Linked DNA regions of Homo sapiens: region 1 is linked to region 2. Evidence: promoter capture Hi-C in 16 types of primary human blood cells and fetal thymus (Javierre and others, 2016). All regions are on one chromosome and are shown on one strand. The core of a region is centred on a gene start or on the middle of the fragment in contact, and the rest is flanking DNA. Distances in the headings are between cores, read along the strand shown.

What was found. The method cuts DNA at HindIII sites, captures the fragments that hold promoters and counts their contacts. A CHiCAGO score of 5 or more calls a contact.
Region 1: a fragment that was not itself captured here is called in contact with the fragment with the promoter of CERK in region 2 in 1 of 17 cell types (M0 macrophages); the score reaches 5.1 in M0 macrophages.

The regions. Positions count from the first base shown.
Region 1 is chr22:46,589,537-46,592,710 of GRCh38, forward strand. It overlaps a transcript of GRAMD4 not described here. Among named protein-coding and RNA genes, the nearest start is that of GRAMD4, 29 kb to the right of the region's middle. The HindIII fragment of the contact is 4,760 bases long and covers 1-3,174 here.
Region 2 is chr22:46,736,708-46,740,021 of GRCh38, forward strand. CERK (ceramide kinase) reads right to left here and starts at 1,545. Exons shown (of 13, transcript NM_022766.6): 1 at 1,300-1,545. The coding sequence starts at 1,441. RefSeq lists enhancers at 618-787, 2,026-2,684, 2,058-2,387 and a silencer at 938-1,897. The HindIII fragment of the contact is 34,881 bases long and covers 1-3,314 here.

The DNA.
Region 1 (3,174 bases), core at 134-2,633, 150 kb before region 2:
GGATGTGGGGGGTGGCTGCCACCTCTGCAGTGACCCTGGAAGGGCCCATGCTGCCCCTGCTTTGCAGGTGAGTAAGCGGGTGTCTGAGAGTTCCCAGCTCTGCCTGCAGGGCCCATGCCCTGTGGCTACCCCCCAGTCCCGCTCTGTTTGCTTTATTTAAGTATTTTGGAAGATCACTCCTCAGCCTCATGGGGTGGATCCTTAACTCTTCTGGCCCAGCCCACTCCTCAGGTTTCTAGGTGACCCACCTGCTTTGTGTGCACCCTGAGGCCTGCTGCACTGCCAGGACCTCAGCCCCTGCCCTGCTCCCCAGCAGCCTGACTGCCTCCCCTCCCTCAGCCCCTCAGAGAGGCCTCCTGTCAACACCCTTTCTGCAGCTTTCTCCCTACCCCTTCAGCCAGCTCCCCTCGTGGCCCTCCCTGCTGCCTGGTTCCTGCGGCATGTATTGGTGGGGAGGCCGTGTCGCCTCCTGTAACTCCCACGGCAGTCTTGCAGGATGGGTCCTGGCCTGGTTGGGAGCCCTGAGTCTGGTTGATTCCTGCCTACTGTTGGCCCGGGTGGGCAGAGCCGTGGCAGTCAGGAGAGCCTTGGCCTGGGGGGCCAGAGCCCTGCCCCCACATCTACACCAGCTACTGGGCCGCCTGGACAGCCCTGTGCCCTGCGTGCCTCCTGCGTCCAGAGGGGCGGAGCTGGGAGTCTGACTGTGACAGCTCTGGGGCCACATGGATGGCCCTCGGCCTGATTCCTCTTGGTGGGAGGCTTTGATTGGGAAGCTGGGGGAAGGTGGCTAGTGGGTGGGGTTCGGGAGTACTGGGGACCTCTCCCAGTGTCCTTCCTCCAGCCAGTCCTTGGCAGAGAGCTGAGAAGGTGCCGGGGATGGGTGAGCGCTCCACTAACCCCGAGGGCTGGGATTGGCCAGGAGCGCGTCCCAAGGAGGAGGTGACCTGGGCCACTGTGTGTGTGACCAGGCCTGGGCTGCTGCCGTTAACACCCAGTCAGCTGGTGTCTGCCTGTTGCTCGTGACTGGCCTGGTTTGGTGGCCTGGTAGAGGGGAATGGGAGGGGAGAAACCCGGGCTGGGCCCAGGTGAGTGTCAACAGGGGAGGGAGAGAGCAGCAGAGGTCCCGCCAGGGCGTGCTTGGGTGAGGGGAGGAGGAGCTCAGAGAGATTGGGGGAGAGTCCACAGTGTTGTCTGAGGACAGCTAAGGACGATGGACACTACTAGTTTATAAAAACAGCCAGAGGCCGGGCACACTGGCTCATGCCTGTAATCCCAACACTTTGGGAGGCCGAGGCAGGTGGATTGTCTGTGGTCGGGAGTCTGAGACCAGCCTGGCCAAGATGGTGAAACTCTGTCTCTACTAAAAATACAAAAATTAGCCAGCATGGTGGTGGGTGCCTGTAATCCCAGCTACTCAGGAGGCTGTGGGATGAAAATTGCACGAACCTGGGAGGCGGAGATTGCAGTAAGCCAAGATCGTGCCACCGGACTCCAGCCTGGGTGATAGAGCAAGACTCTGTCTAAAAAGAAAAAGAAAAAAAAACAAACAAACCCAAAAAACAGCCAGAGAAGGCAAGAGCCCTGGAATGGCCTAAGGTGGGAAACTGCTGCCCTCTCAGCCGCGGGGTCCAGTGTGTGATAGTGAAATCTCTCGTTATCTTAAATTCTCTCTTCAGGGACTTAAACAGAAATTAACAGGGCTGGGTGCAGTGGCTCATGCCTGTAGTCCCAGCACTTTGAGAGGCTGAGAGGGGGAGGATTGCGTGAGCTCAGGAGTTTGAGAACGGCCTGGGCAACATAGTGAGACTCCATCTCTACTAAAAATAAAAAATTAGCTGGGTGTGGTGGTGCATGTCGTAGTCCCAGCTCCTTGGGAGGCTGAGGTGGGAGTTGGGGTTTGTTGTTTTGGACAGATTTACCAAATTCATTTGGACGACGTTACTGAAGCTCCATGAGGCAGAGGCTAACGGACATTGCTGAAGTCCTAGGTTGCATCCCTCATAAAGGCCACCCCCGGGCCGTGCACGGTGCCTCACGCCTGTAATCCCAGCACTTTGGGAGGCTGAGGCAGGTGGAATACCAGAGGTCAGTAGTTGGAGACCAGTCTGGCCAACATGGCAAAACCCTGTCTCTACTAAAAATAAAAATTAGCCGGGTGTGGTGGTGGGTGCCTGTAATCCCAGCTACTCTGGAGGTTGAGGCACGAGAATCGTTTGAACTCGGGAGACGGAGGTTGCAGTGAGCCAAGATCAAGCCACTGCACTCCAGCCTGGGTGACAGAGCGAGACTCTGTCTCAAAAAAAAAAAAAAAAAAAACCCAGAAAGGCCAACCCCCGCACCCCTCAGCCCCCGCACCCCTCAGTTAGCCATGCCCAGGGACAGTCAGAAAGCATCTGTGATATCAGTGGACATTGGGGCCCAGCCCAGGACTGGTGTGTCCCCTCCTGTGCCTGCAGGCTTGACACAGCAAGGCCCTCCCTCTCGCCCCCAAGTCCCCACACTTGTCAAGGGCATCACGGCACATTCCAGGAAAGTTGGTTGATGTCACGGGAGTCGAGACCTCATCCTGACGCCCAGCTCAGCAGGGCCACCGGGGCTCAGGTTAGGTGGTGCCATAGTTGGGGGACAGTCCCCATAGGGTTGCGCCCCCAGAGTGCCCTAGGGAATGAGGCCCACTGCTACTGCCACCAGCCCAGCTGGCATAATTGATAAATAAGTGTGGTTCTTTTAAGTTGGGCAAGTGTGTATTTTTAAATAACTGACTGCTTAATTGTACGATTAAAAACAGCAGAGCTGGGTGCAGGGGTGCGTGTCTGTGGTCCCAGCTCCTTGGGAGGCTAAGGCGGGAGGATCCATAGAGCCCAGGAGTTTGAAGCCAGCCTGGGAAACATAGGGAGGAGGCCCTGTTTCCAAAAAAAAAAAAAAGGATGAAGTGGGCTGTTAGCACTGAGTCATGGCGAGCAAGGTGAAGAAGCCCCACTGTGGCTGTGTGGTGAACTCAGTCATTCACAGCCGGGAGGGGCTCGATTCAGTTACTTTCCTGAATGTTTTCACTGTTCCGACTGCACCAGGGAGGAACCACATCCTCTACGCCTGCAGAAGCAAAATTTCTCTCCCGAGAGTCTTGGAATTCTGCGGCCCACATGTATGGTGACCAGCTCTGCAAGGGGCTTT
Region 2 (3,314 bases), core at 295-2,794:
GACCCCAGGGCTGGAAACCAAGTGTTGGTCATGGGTCTGAGACCACCCCTCGACCTTGGCCCCACCTAACGTTCAACTCTGTCCCCACCAGAACCCAACCCACAGATCCTCACCACTCAGCACCAGAAAGCGCCCAGAAGAACTCCTGACCTCGACTGCCCACAGGGTCTAAAGGTGTCATCCCAGGCTCCGAATATCCACCAGAGAATCTTGGCCTCCGCCACACCCACCCCATTCCAGCTCCGCACATCCAGCATGAATCCTGGCCTCTGCCACACCCACCCCAATAATTAAAAAGAAAAAAGGCTGGGTGCGGTTGCTCACACCTGTAATCCCAGCACTTTGAGAGGCTGAGGTGGGCAGATCACCTGAGGTCAGGAATTCAAGACCAGCCTGGCCAACATGGTGAAACCCTGTCTCTACTAAAATACAAAAATTAGCCGGGCGTAGTAGCGGGCTCCTGTAATCCCAGCTACTCCGAGGCTGAGGCAGGGAGAATTGCTTGAACCCAGGAGGCGGAGGTGCAGTGAGCCAAGATCGTGGCATTGAACTCCAGCCTGGGCAACAGAGCAACACTCCGACTCAAAAAAAAAAAAAAACAAAAAACAAACAAAAAACAACAAAAAACAAAAACAAACCCTCTGTCCTCCTGCAGGGCTCTCTCCAGGGTGGGCTATGCGTCCTCCATGTTTACCAAAGTCACTCTTCTCCTCATCCGGAGGGCCTCTGCGGGGCAAGTAGCCAACCCGTGGCACGGAAACCAATTCCCCCATCCCGAGCAGGGAGCACACCCCACAGAAAGTCAGGGGCCCCTTCTTTAACTTCTTAACAGGAAGTCCTCACCCTGCAAGGGCGCCTCTCAGGTTTCGGATCCCTGCTAAAGAAAAGCATCTGTTCTTGGAGTAAACTGCAATGCGCGCGGTGGGGAGCGCCTGGCACCCCCCCTCGGGATCCATCCACAGTCCGTCTTGTCCAGAGGTGCCCTGCGGACAGACCGCACCGGGGGCCACGACCCCGCGCCCCGGGTCCCACCTCCCCGCGGGGATGGGGCGCCGGCCTCCCCTCCACTGCGCGGCGCTTTGTCCTCGGGTTCCCGGAGCAGACGGCGGCGCACAGCCCGGCCCCTGGCCCCGGCCTCCCTCCCGCCTGCCCCGACCCCTCCCTGGCGCCTGCGCTCCCAGGGCCCCCGGCCTTACCACAGCCGCTCGCTCCCTGCACCCGGTCCCCCCAGCCGGGTCCCCCAAGCCGCCCCCGCTCCCTGGCCAGGTCCGGCCGAACCCGGGCGGCGGCGACACTCACCCGCGCCGGGGGCGCCGGCTCCGGGCCCCGGGCTCCGCCACCAGCGCAGCAGAGCCCGCGCGGGCTCCAGGCTCACGGCGCAGCGCTGCTGCTTCACCCACAGCACGGATTGCAGCGGCTCCGCCGCCCCCGTCGCCCCCATCTCCGCCGCCGGGCTCGTCCGCCAGGCTGGGGGCGCGCGGACGCCGAGGGGCGCCGGACCGTTAGCGGCCCCTGCAGTGGCCCGGGCGGCGGGCGGCGGGCGGCGGGAGGCGGCGCTGCGTCACCCCGTACGCGGGCGGCGGGGACCGCGGAGGGGACGGGCGGGGCGGGGGCGAGGAGGAGGCGTGGGTAGAGGAGGGGCCGGGAGCCAGGGAGAGACGGGGGGACCCGAGAAGGGGAGAAGAGGGAGGAGGAAGGGGCCGGGATGGGGCTGGCCGAGGCCAGGGCGCTGGGGCCGGGAGGCGGCTGCCTTTCTCTCCTCTCTTCTCCGGCGGGTGCCGGGTGCTGAATCTGGCGCTCCCGCGGCCGGCCGGGACTCAGTGGCGCCTTCCGCGCGGGCCTCGGTTCAGGCGGGGTCCGGGCGGCGTGGAAACGCAGTCCTGGCGATCGGGCGCGGCGGGGGGCGGGCCTGGATGGGGGCGCCACGGGCGACGTGACCTTGGGCGGCGGGTGCCCTCTACGATCCTGGCGTCCTGTCGGCCTGGGAGGGGGCCTGCAGCTGGGCCCCGACAGGCAGGTAAGGCTTTCAGGAGGCGGAGGTCTTTTTAGGGGGCGGGGGCGCTGGCCCTTTGAACTGCTCTGGGGCCTGAAGCCACAGAGCAGACAGCTGAGCAGCCGCCCCCGAGCTGGCCCTAGGAACCGGAGCCTGGGCCCCAGACTTGGAGAGACACGGCCCCTGTGGCCCCAATTCACCGCCTCCCCAGGAAGGCCTCCTTGACCCCACAGCTGAAGGAATCACCAGCCTGCAGGGACTCCAGCCCTGCCTTCAGAGCACGCCGTGCGCCTTCATGCAAGCTCCAGTCTCTGCGTCCGCAGTGCTTAACACAGCCCCATAGGAAGCAGCCACAACCTGGTTCGGAGGGCACATCCCTCCCTGATTTATCAGTGAAGACTGTGCTCACAGAGGTTAAGTCACTTGCCCAAGAGCACAGGGCTCCAGTGTGGCAGAGCCTAGGCTCACACTGACACTGCCTGGATGTGACACTGAGGTCTGAGGCCTGCCCCTCCCCTCGGCTCCCCTACCCAGCCCTGCTGCTGCAGGCAGAGGTGAGGTGGGCTAGGTCCACGTGGCCTTGCTGCTGTGCCTGGCACCAGGTGGCAGCATATACAGGTCTTACCCTGCCAGCTCCTTGTGACTGTCTTGTCTATAGGGCGGGAACCAGCCATGAATCATTCCTCCCTGGGAGCCCAGCCCCTGTTCAGGCCATGCAGTGAAGGCCCCAGGACAGTCCTGCAGCCACCGTGGGCCCAGTCAGAGTCCTAGCAGGCAGTACCTGATCGTGGCACACAGTGGGGTGTGCAGCAGCGAGGCCTGCCCAGCCTCCTCCCTCCCTCAGCTGCCGCTCTGAGGCCTGGGAAATGTGGATCTGAAACTTACTTGGAAAGAAAAGCTCATGCCAGTGGCAGGAGGGTGCCGCTGCATGCGAAGAGGGTTGGCAGGCAAGGGTGGCATGGGCAGGGGCCCGAGAGCACCAGCGTCCCTACTGGGGACCCCTTCCCTGGGCCTCCCTGTGCTTAGGCTCCCCGTGCCCCTCCCGGCGTATTCACGTTGCTGTCCCCCGGCTGCACGCCTTGGCTTAAAATCCTGCAGCCAGAGGTGGGGGCCCAGAGACGACTCAGAAGTGCTTAGGCCCCGAAGGAGCTCCGTTGGGGGAGACAGCAACATCAGTTACAAAACACACAGGAGATTCAATGAGGCTGTTAGGGTGGGCCCTCATCCAGCGCGTCCTTACAAGAAGAGGAAATGTTGACCGGGCTCTGTGGCTCACACCTGTAATCCCAGCACTTTGGGAGGCTGAAGCGGGTGGATCACC